Linked DNA regions of Homo sapiens: region 1 is linked to region 2. The links are contacts of gene promoters, found by promoter capture Hi-C in human tissues and cell types (Jung and others, 2019). All regions are on one chromosome and are shown on one strand. The core of a region is centred on a gene start or on the middle of the fragment in contact, and the rest is flanking DNA. Distances in the headings are between cores, read along the strand shown. Region 1 overlaps LDLRAD4 (low density lipoprotein receptor class A domain containing 4). Region 2 holds the start of CEP76 (centrosomal protein 76).

The links. Contacts are between HindIII fragments. The study calls those that stand out against the background at their distance.
Region 1: a fragment that was not itself captured here is called in contact with the fragment with the promoter of CEP76 in region 2 in 1 of the 25 tissues and cell types used here (lymphoblastoid cells).

The regions. Positions count from the first base shown.
Region 1 is chr18:13,557,860-13,562,794 of GRCh38, reverse strand. The region is part of intron 4 of LDLRAD4 (low density lipoprotein receptor class A domain containing 4); the gene reads right to left. Among named protein-coding and RNA genes, the nearest start is that of MIR4526, 51 kb to the left of the region's middle. RefSeq lists enhancers at 1-225, 276-325, 4,274-4,373. The HindIII fragment of the contact is 4,441 bases long and covers 884-4,935 here.
Region 2 is chr18:12,701,222-12,705,673 of GRCh38, reverse strand. CEP76 (centrosomal protein 76) reads left to right here and starts at 2,951. Exons shown (of 12, transcript NM_024899.4): 1 at 2,951-3,188. The coding sequence starts at 3,126. PSMG2 (proteasome assembly chaperone 2) reads right to left here and starts at 2,632. Exons shown (of 7, transcript NM_020232.5): 1 at 2,510-2,632. The coding sequence starts at 2,566. RefSeq lists enhancers at 3,264-3,313, 3,324-3,623, 2,909-3,806. The HindIII fragment of the contact is 6,809 bases long and covers 1-4,452 here.

The sequences.
Region 1 (4,935 bases), core at 1,855-4,354, 860 kb before region 2:
CAGCCCAGAGCTCACATAGCCCCCAGGTTCATCAATGTCCCATCGACAGCCTTCACTGGATATTTTTTTAAATCTCACATGTTGCATCTAAAAAAGTGGAACTCACGGAAGCAGAGGGTAGAATGGGGGTTTCCAGGGGCTGGGCCATTAGGGACGATGGGGAGATGTTAGTCAAAGGGTACGAACTTTCAGTTATAAGATGAACAAGTTCTGAGGCTCTGACGGACCGCGTGGGTGGTGAACATGTGAGCCTGACTGTCATCATCAGTCCACAATGTATATACATGTATCAAATAATCACATTGTATACACAGGATAGAGACAATCTTTGTCAATTAAATATATTAAAATTTAAAAAATGTAAACAAATTCATTGATAACAAATTTCAAAGTAATGGACCTAGTTAAGGGAGTGGAGAAACGAGGCAGGCTGAGGTCTCACTGATGTAGGTTGGCAGAGCTGGCTGAGAGTTTCAAAGCCTCAAGGTGGCCAGTCTGGGTCACCGGGATCAAGGATGGTGATTCCATGACAGTCCCTCTACCAAACACAGCTGCACTGTCATTTACCCTCACAGCAAGCCACATCTACCTATAAAAGCAGGTGTGATGATCACCTTTCACAGATGAGGAAATGGAAACTCAGAGACATCAAGCAACTTGTCCAAGGACACATTATCTTAAAAACACTGAGTCAGGACCACGATTTGGGCCTGGATCTATAGGACCAGGAAGTTCTCACTCTACCATGCCAGAGAGGAGAGGGATGCCTCCAACACCAGGTGGTCAAGTAAAATTAATTAGCTAATAATTGTTATTGGATATGCTAGACTTTGTACTTTTTCTTTTGTACTGTTGCTCATTGTTGAACATGTTTGGTTTTTCTTTTAGGTTTTCTCTAATATAAAGAAAACAGTGGTTATTTATAATCATTACTGGAGGGTTTGACAATCAGGAAAACATTAGGTTCAGCTTCTCCGAAATCGATTTGAGATTCACAGCAAGTCCTCATTACACTGCACCACTAGCATAAATTATTGTATATTTTAATGCTCCATATCCCACAACATCCAAGAGATGTTGGTATCAATCCTACACTGAGTCAAGACACGCTTCGGCATACATGTCATCACGTCCGTCTTTGCACAGGTGTCATCACGTCCGTCTTTGCCTTCTCCCAACATGTTTCTTGAACGATAATCAGGACACCACTCCCGATGATGAAGTACACTTCCAACAAATGACTGCTCATCAAGGTCTCAGCTGCAGTGTTTAATCACGCAGCAGAAACCATTTATTTTCTCATATACTTCTCTTTCTTGAAATATCTCTTAATTATCTCATTTACTCCTATATAAAAATGGTGCTCAAAAATTTAATTACAAGGGCAAGATCTTAAGGAGTTGCAAGGTGTGTGTCTATTTCTCGAAGAGACATTTTCAAAAGCCCCAAATTCTATGACTGAGGAAAAATAACTGGATGATGCCCCAGAAAAGAGTAAGGGGTGATAAGTTAACGGAAGCCCATTTCCAAAACTAATTACCTATATATTGTTTCCTAAAAATAAATTCACCCACTCATTTCATGTCACGCTCTTAACGCCTTTCAACCTTTCAAACGTGGAACCTGAAGAATAGCTCCAGTGTGGGCCCTGAATATCTGCAGGATGTTCCCTGAGACAGTAAGATCTGGTAACTGGGGAGCTTTACATACCTGTAAGGCCAAGTGACACATCATAAGCCAATTCACAGGGGAAGAAACAAACCCAGAGCTCTTGGGAGACCTTCCTAAGGTCACACAGATGTGTCTCCATAAAAATCAGAACGAGGCTCCTGGTTTTCCTTTATTTCACACAGGCTTGAAGTTGTTTTGTGCCAAGAGAGCCACAGTGTTAGGCACCTGCTAGCTCCCAGGTCACCTGCAAGCCCTTCCAAGAGTCATTTCAACCGCAGGTCTGCACTCTGTTCTCTACTTTCTTCTCAGCCACAGCAACAACTACAGCTTCATGGACACTTGATGTTGGAATTGAGATTGGAGTTTTCTTTAATTATTATTCTCAACTTAAAAAGCTGACGCTGAAAAGGGAAGCTTGAGCTCAGCAGATCCTTTCACAGAGAGGCTGAGAAGACAAACTCTCTGATTTCTGGTCTTCTCAGAAAAGATTAAAGTCAAAAATCATGGATGAGGAGACACAAATCTGTCTCCAAAATCTTGCCACTTTGGCGTTATGAAGGTCTTTAAGTCAGTCACTCAGAGCCCTACCAGGTCATCTGAAGGGCAAATCCATAGGAGCCCATGGGAAGAGACATCAGCCCCCGTCATCCCCACTGGCACAGAGCCTCAGGTACGATGCAGGTCCCTTCAAGGACCAACCAAGGACAGCAGCACAGTCTGCAGGGGAAAGACCCGAATCCCCTTGGGCTCTGAGATTGGGCCATTACCTACAGCTTCCAAACACCTGCTCAGAAGTCAGAGAAAAGGTGAGCAGCCGGACAGACTCCTTGTGACATGGGCTGTGCACATTCGTCCTTCAGCAGTCTCACCTGGGGTGTTTTGAGGATGGGGTTGGCTCAGGCCAACAGACCCAAAAGCAGGGGGACACCCTCTAGGGCTTCAATTCCCTGAAAATAATTCCATGGTTTCTATATTTGCTCTGAACAATGTAAATCAAAAAAAGAAAAAAATAAAAGCATGACAGGAACTAGAGTTCCACTTTTTCTGCTACCAATTAATCCAAAAGCTAAAAAGTACCCATATAATACTCAAAAGCTATCAGAGCAAAGGCCCTGGATTAGGGACTCCTTGTTGCTAGGTAGTAACGCCCAACCCTGTTGATTATGCAACGGCAGACCAACATCTTGGTTTGAAGATAGGCACTTCTTGGTCAGGGGCAGCAAAGTGCTGTCTGGATACAAGCAGAGGCTGTGTACCAGCTGTGCTGTCTTTGAACTGGAAGAGGCATCAGAGATCTCCCGCCAACTCCTCCATGGGCAACTGAGTCCAGGAGAGGGGCAGTGATTTAGCGAATGTCCTGGAAAAGTCATTTGCAGAGCTGCTGTCTGAACCCAGTTTTCTGACTCTCAGGGAGTGTGATGTTGGTCTCTAGACAGAAGAAATAACAAATAGCTTACATGTATATATATACATATATAAAATGTACATACATACATATGTACACAGATATACTTGCATTTCTATATGTATATATACATGTAAGCTATTTGTCATATATATGTGTACATGTGTATATGTACATACATACACATATATATGATACATACCCATATAAATTCACACACCTACTTAGAAATTTCAATTCTAGACAAATAGAGACTAATAATCCTGTTGCATTTTTTTAGCATATTGGGCCTTATATGTAACTAACAAATTATACAAATAACTTGGCTGAAGTGTCCAGACCTTTTCCATGAATGCCATTTCAAGGCAGGTTCCCTCTTCCAGGTCTCTGGGATTTATCTCATTTGTTTGTTTGTTGGTGAGGGGCTGAGTCACAGAAGCAGCTTCAGAAACCCCACAAGGAAGCAGCCATGCAGATGCTGTGCTGATCACCCACTAAAGTGTCCCTTTGTCACTAATCAGTCAAAAATTATTTATTGAGGAAAAATGAAAGTAGGGACTCCCTCTTTCCTTAAAGAGACAGTGACACCTTTACAGATACCAAAGATCAGTGGTGATCCATCGAGACTCCCTGCTTACTTTTATCTAATGCTGGTCTTGCAGCCAGTGGGGTACTACATTCTGGGGTGCTGCCGGTGGCACGTCTAGTGACAGTAACAGTACTTCAGTGCCTGCGAGTCGCATTAGCTGGGGAGCTGGTGTGCTTCCCACTTCTGTGATTGCCCTAGTGCACAGGGTGGCCCCCGATGACTTGCTCTTGTAGAGGGGCAGGGGGAGGGCTGGGTGGGAGAATTCAAGGTTATGTAATGCTTACTGTTGATCACCTATTAACAGAAAGCAATGGTGGCAGAGGTTCTCTTTGGGTGTTCATATTTTATATTTTTCTTACTGTTTTATATTTTTCATACTTTTTAAAATTTTTCTTAGTTACACTGGCTAATAGCAAAATTATTTTGCATTTCTGAGTAAACAGTAACTCCTATGGAAGATTACCCAGAAACACATGAAGTCCTCGTGGGACTCGTTCAGCTAGCTGATAAACATTTACGACTGAGCCATACATGTGCCGATCCTACTAGGAATAAAAATTTGCTACCCATATCCCAGCAAGTGCTGCCAATTCTTCGGGTTACAGCTACATAGATATAGCTCTTCCTCTATTACTGCTTTAATGCTTTATGAGTAAGCTGGGATGTCTGTAGCCAGGTGGGTCTAGAACAATGTTTTCCAGGAATGCTCTTCACCACGTGGCCTGGGCAACCTGCCCCTGCTGGCCAGAGAAGTCGGGTACGAATAGGGGAACTGAGGTAGGCAAGTGGTGCTTCTGCATGCCCCTGTGGCCTGGGCGGATCCCCAGGGATGTGTCTTCAGAACCCATCATGTCTTGTTTTCTTCTGCCAGAGTGACACCTACTGGGAACTATGGAGGAATGCAGCCCACTCCTCCGATACAGTCCCACTCAATATTCACCCTGGTCTATTTTTGCACAAGGGTAAGAATTTCAACCAGCTTGGATAAACACACAAGTTGTGTGACATGAAGATAAATTTGGCAATGGTTGCTTAGAAACTGACAACAGTGCAATCAATAGGCAGTTTCCCAGAGCGCCCTACTCCAACACCTTTTAAAGTGCCAATCAAAGTTTGCAAAACCATTCATTATATTTCAATATGTGGAATTTTTTTGTACCTTGAAAAAATGATTAGATTTTGTTCCTGTTTAACAACTTACTTCTAATTCAAATTCAAAGTGAAAATAATGAGATTGGGCATCAAGAATTTGGACATACTGGTGTCTGGT
Region 2 (4,452 bases), core at 1,702-4,201:
TGCTTACCATTTGCTTTATTAGTGCCTCTTTACCCATTCCGAAAGGTTGAAGTGATCTTTTCACACTAAACACACACACACACACACACACACACACTCTCTCTCTCTCTCTCTCTCTCTCTCTCTCTTTTTCCCATGACTTAAAATAATGAAGCTGCCAAATCCCTACCTACATCCCAGAACACGTAGGAGCTCCACAACCTAATGGACGTCTCCACATGGTTAGGTCACAGGAAACTCACATTCCACATGTCCAAAACTATAAACTTTTGCCCAAATTTTTCCCCATATTTTGTATTTTAGAAAAGGGCGCCGGGCATGGTGTCTCATGCCTGTAATCCCAGCACTTTGGGAGGCCGAGGCAGGTGGATCACCTGAGGTTAGGAGTTTGAGACCAGCCTGGCCTACATGGTGAAACCCTGTCTCTACCAAAAATACAAAATTAGCTGGGCGTGGTGGTGCATGCCTATAATCCCAGCTACTCGGGAGGCAGAGGCAGGAGAATCACTTGAACCCAGGAGGCAGAGGTTGCAGTGAGCCAAGATCGTGCCATTGCACTCCAGACTGGGCAAAAAAGAGCAAAACTCCATCTCAAAAAAAAAAAAAAGTTCAATATTATTCAATCTACCTAAACTTCTTCCCATTCCCTTACCAACTACATCTAATACATGCCTAATTTTTATTGAGGCTATCCCCCAAGTATCCTTTTAATGTAGCTCCTCCTTTGCATTCTTCCAACAACTCCTTTTGTTTTCTGTCCTTCGGGTGTTCCCTCAGCATGTTCTCCCACTTTTCACTGTTGTCACCTACCAATTGCCTAGTTACCTCCTGCAATTCCCTTCTCAACGATTTTGCTACTTGGGTTAAACTCTTCTGTACCATCCTTCTTTTCCTCACAATATTGTATTATTCCCATCAGCACGTAAACATGCTCTAATATCTTTCATTCTAAAAGGCTCTCCCTTGACCCCACATAGCCCTCTAACTGCAACCTCATTTCTTGTTTCTCTATGTAGCAAAAATTCTCCAAGTCGTCCACGAAAACATAAGCAGAAACTTTATCTCTTATTAAAAAAAAGTTTTTTGAGACAGGGTCTCACTCTGTCGCCCAGGCTGGAGTGCAGTGGCACGATTTCAGCTCACTGCAGCCTCTGCTTCCTGGGCTCAAGTGATCCTCCCACCTCAGCTTCCCGAGTAGCTGAGATACAGGTGCAGGAAACCACACCTGGCTAATTTTTATTTATTTTTTTGTAGAGATGAGGTATCACTATGTCGCCCAGGCTGGTCTTGAACTCCTGAGCTCAAGCGATCCTCCTGTACTCGGCCTTCTAAAGTGCTGGGATTACAGGCATGAGCCATCATGCCTGTCTCTGAATTAATGACTGAATATATATTATACAACCCAAATCTTTAACTTGTTTTCTATCATTCATTCAACCCACTCCAATATGGCTTTCCTCTTCACCACTTCACTGGTAACTGTTTGTCCAGGTGACCATCATTAACATGTCGCTAAATCCAAACATACACTTTCTTCACCTTACACATCTCTGGGCTACTTTTGACATGGCCACTCCCTCCTTTTTGAAACACTCTTCTCTGGGGCTGTGTGTTTTATATGTAATGAATAAGGATGACACTTCCAGCTCTCTCCAGCCTTATACCACTCCAAACAGTGCATTTTCCAATGGTGCCTTCTGGGTTCACAGGGCCTACAGCCTATTCTCTCTCAATGTGTCATTCCAAATTCTTGGCAGTCTTCAAGTCCCCCTGCTTACTGACTCTGTTTTAGACATCCATCTTTCTGAAACGCCTACTTTCCCCTACTCCCAGCCCACGGGCCCTCCATCTTTTGCATACTACTTTCTCTATAAAGCCTTTCTTAACAAGCCATCTGTCCCTCCCCTCCCAATTATCTCAGGACCTTTCTATACCCTTTCAAGCTTCTAGCCTAGCATTTATTGCTCTTAGATTACATGTTTCCAACTACAGTGTAAATTCTTTGAGGGCACGCACCTAGTCTTATTCTAATACTCGCACATAACAGACTTTATTAAAACAATGAATGAATATAAAGAGCGATAAAACTGCGCTAACTACCGGCAAGAGTTAATGTTTATTGCCCTATCAGTAGTTCTCCGGTTAACAACGATAATATGCTAGCTTAAGACTAATTCTAAAACTAGTCGTAGAAAGACTTTCTAGGATAAAACTGAAGGATGCCCTGCAAAACATAAGTACAGTGTATCTAGAACGTACGAACACATCACGTTTTACAGGAAACAGAGACTACAAATTGTAGACTTGACTACGTTTGGTTTTACAGCCGACAAAGGTTCTGTTTGGACGGCTGCCTCCGGCTACAACCTCCCTGTTTTTTCCGGCCGAAAACATGAAATAGAAACTAGTGCCCTATTTCTCCCAAGGCACCGCCAAACACCCCGCGTCGGGGTGGCGACACCGCAGGGGCCTCGGGAGGCGGCAGCCCCGAGCGCAAATGGAGACTCACCATTAGGAGGGTGAAGCCGGCAAGGTCGGGGGCCGACTCCCCGCAGGGAACGAACATGGTCGCAGTGGGGTGGCCAGCAGGGACTAACCGCGGCCCTGGCAAGAACGAGGGCAGCAAGAAGGCGGAAGCCCGAGACCCCGGAGCCTCGCGGGGCGCGGGAGGGTCCTTTGAGTCCCTGGGCGCCGGGCCCTTGAGGCCCGTCCAGCTAACTGCCGGTTCAGAGGGCGGAAAGAGGCCGCCGGGTGGCCGCGAAGAGGGGCCAGCAGCGCTTTCGGAGACCCTGGCAAGCAAGGCGATGGGGTGCGCTGAGGTCTCGGGGTGCGGGGCCCGCGGGGAGGTGGAGCGGCGGGCGGAAACGATCAGGCAGCGTGCGGGCCAGCCCCAAGCCCTGTTTGTCCGCCACTGTTTGAAAACAGTTGGCGCCGCCGCCGCCGGGGCCTCATTTCCAGGTCAGCCCCCGGCCTGACGCGGCGTTGCGTCCCCCGGGAGCTGCGCTAGGCGAACGGCTGCGGCGCTTTGTGCTCCAGTCGCTCCTAACGCTCCCTGGCCCGGCCGGGGCCGCGCAGTTAGGGCATCTGAGGCGGGGAGAAGCGGCGGGGAGACGCCGGCTGCCAGCATGTCGCTGCCTCCGGAGAAAGCCTCCGAGCTGAAGCAGCTCATCCACCAGCAGCTGAGCAAGGTGAGAGTCGCGGGTGCTGGGAGAGACCGCCGGGCCGACCCATAACCTTTCCCTCCTGCCCGGCGGCCCCGGGCCGACAGCGGCATCTGCTTGCCGGGACTGTAGCGAGGATTGTGGGGTGCGCAACGCAGAGTAGGCAGAGCTTTGAGTTTGAGGCAGGAGAGCGTCCTCGTCTCCGAGAAAGAAAACGAGCCGAGCAGGTGCTAGCAAGAGTCTGGGGCGATAGAACGAGCGGTCTTGGCGTTTTAGGACGGCCGTGAGAATGAAGCGCTTAGCGAGCGACTTCTGGAAGTCGGATCGAGTGTAAGTTGTATTTGGAGGTTTATATTCTGCTGTAAGATATCAGGTTTTTTTTCTTTCTTGAGACGGAGTCTCTCTGTTGCCCAGGCTGGAGTGCAGTGGCACGATCTCGGCTCACTGCAACCTCCGCCTCCCAGGTTTAAGCGATTCTCCGCCTCAGCCTCCCGAGTAGCTGGGATTACAGGCGCGCGCCACCACGCTCGGCTAATTTTTGTATTTTTAGTAGAGACGGTTTCACCATGTTGGTGTGGCTGGTCCCGAACTCCTGACTTCGTGATCCGGCCGCCTCGGCCTCCTAAAGTGCTGGGATTACAGGCGTGAGCCTCCGCGCCCGGCAGATATCAGGGTTTCTTTACCGCTGAAACATGTGGGTATCAGCGAAGTTGAACCAGGAGCTTCAATCAGCAATTCTCAAATAAGTCATGGAAGAGAAGTTACTAAAGGGTTTGTAATGACGGAATTTGTTAATATTTCGGAGCTCCAGAAGAACCTCCAGTTTCTGCAGCGCTCGCTCGACTGAGTGCAAGATGCTGAAGTGATAAAAGCGACCATTTATGGTGCCCTTGTGTGCCAGGCTTTGTGCTGTCTAGTATCTTTAATCCTCACAACACTATCGTGAGAGGGCACTACACTAGGTTTTTCCATTCTTATCGGTGACGAAACAGATTTATAAAGGGTAAATAAGTTGGCTTGAGGTTACACATCTACTAAGTTGAAAGCTGGTAAGATTCCCTTATCATTAGGCAGATCAAAGTATGAAAGTAATAAGATCATACTTTGATCTGCCTACTCCCAGTCCGTGTTCTTCTGATTATACTATACTCCCTCTCAGAAGATTCCTTTTGGTTGAGTGTTGTTTGTGGAGAAATGGTAACAAAGGTGCCAGATAACCAGTGGAGACTATTTCTAGAATTTGTACTCAAAAGATTCATTCTTTAAAAGCTTACCTTTGTTCCCATTCAAT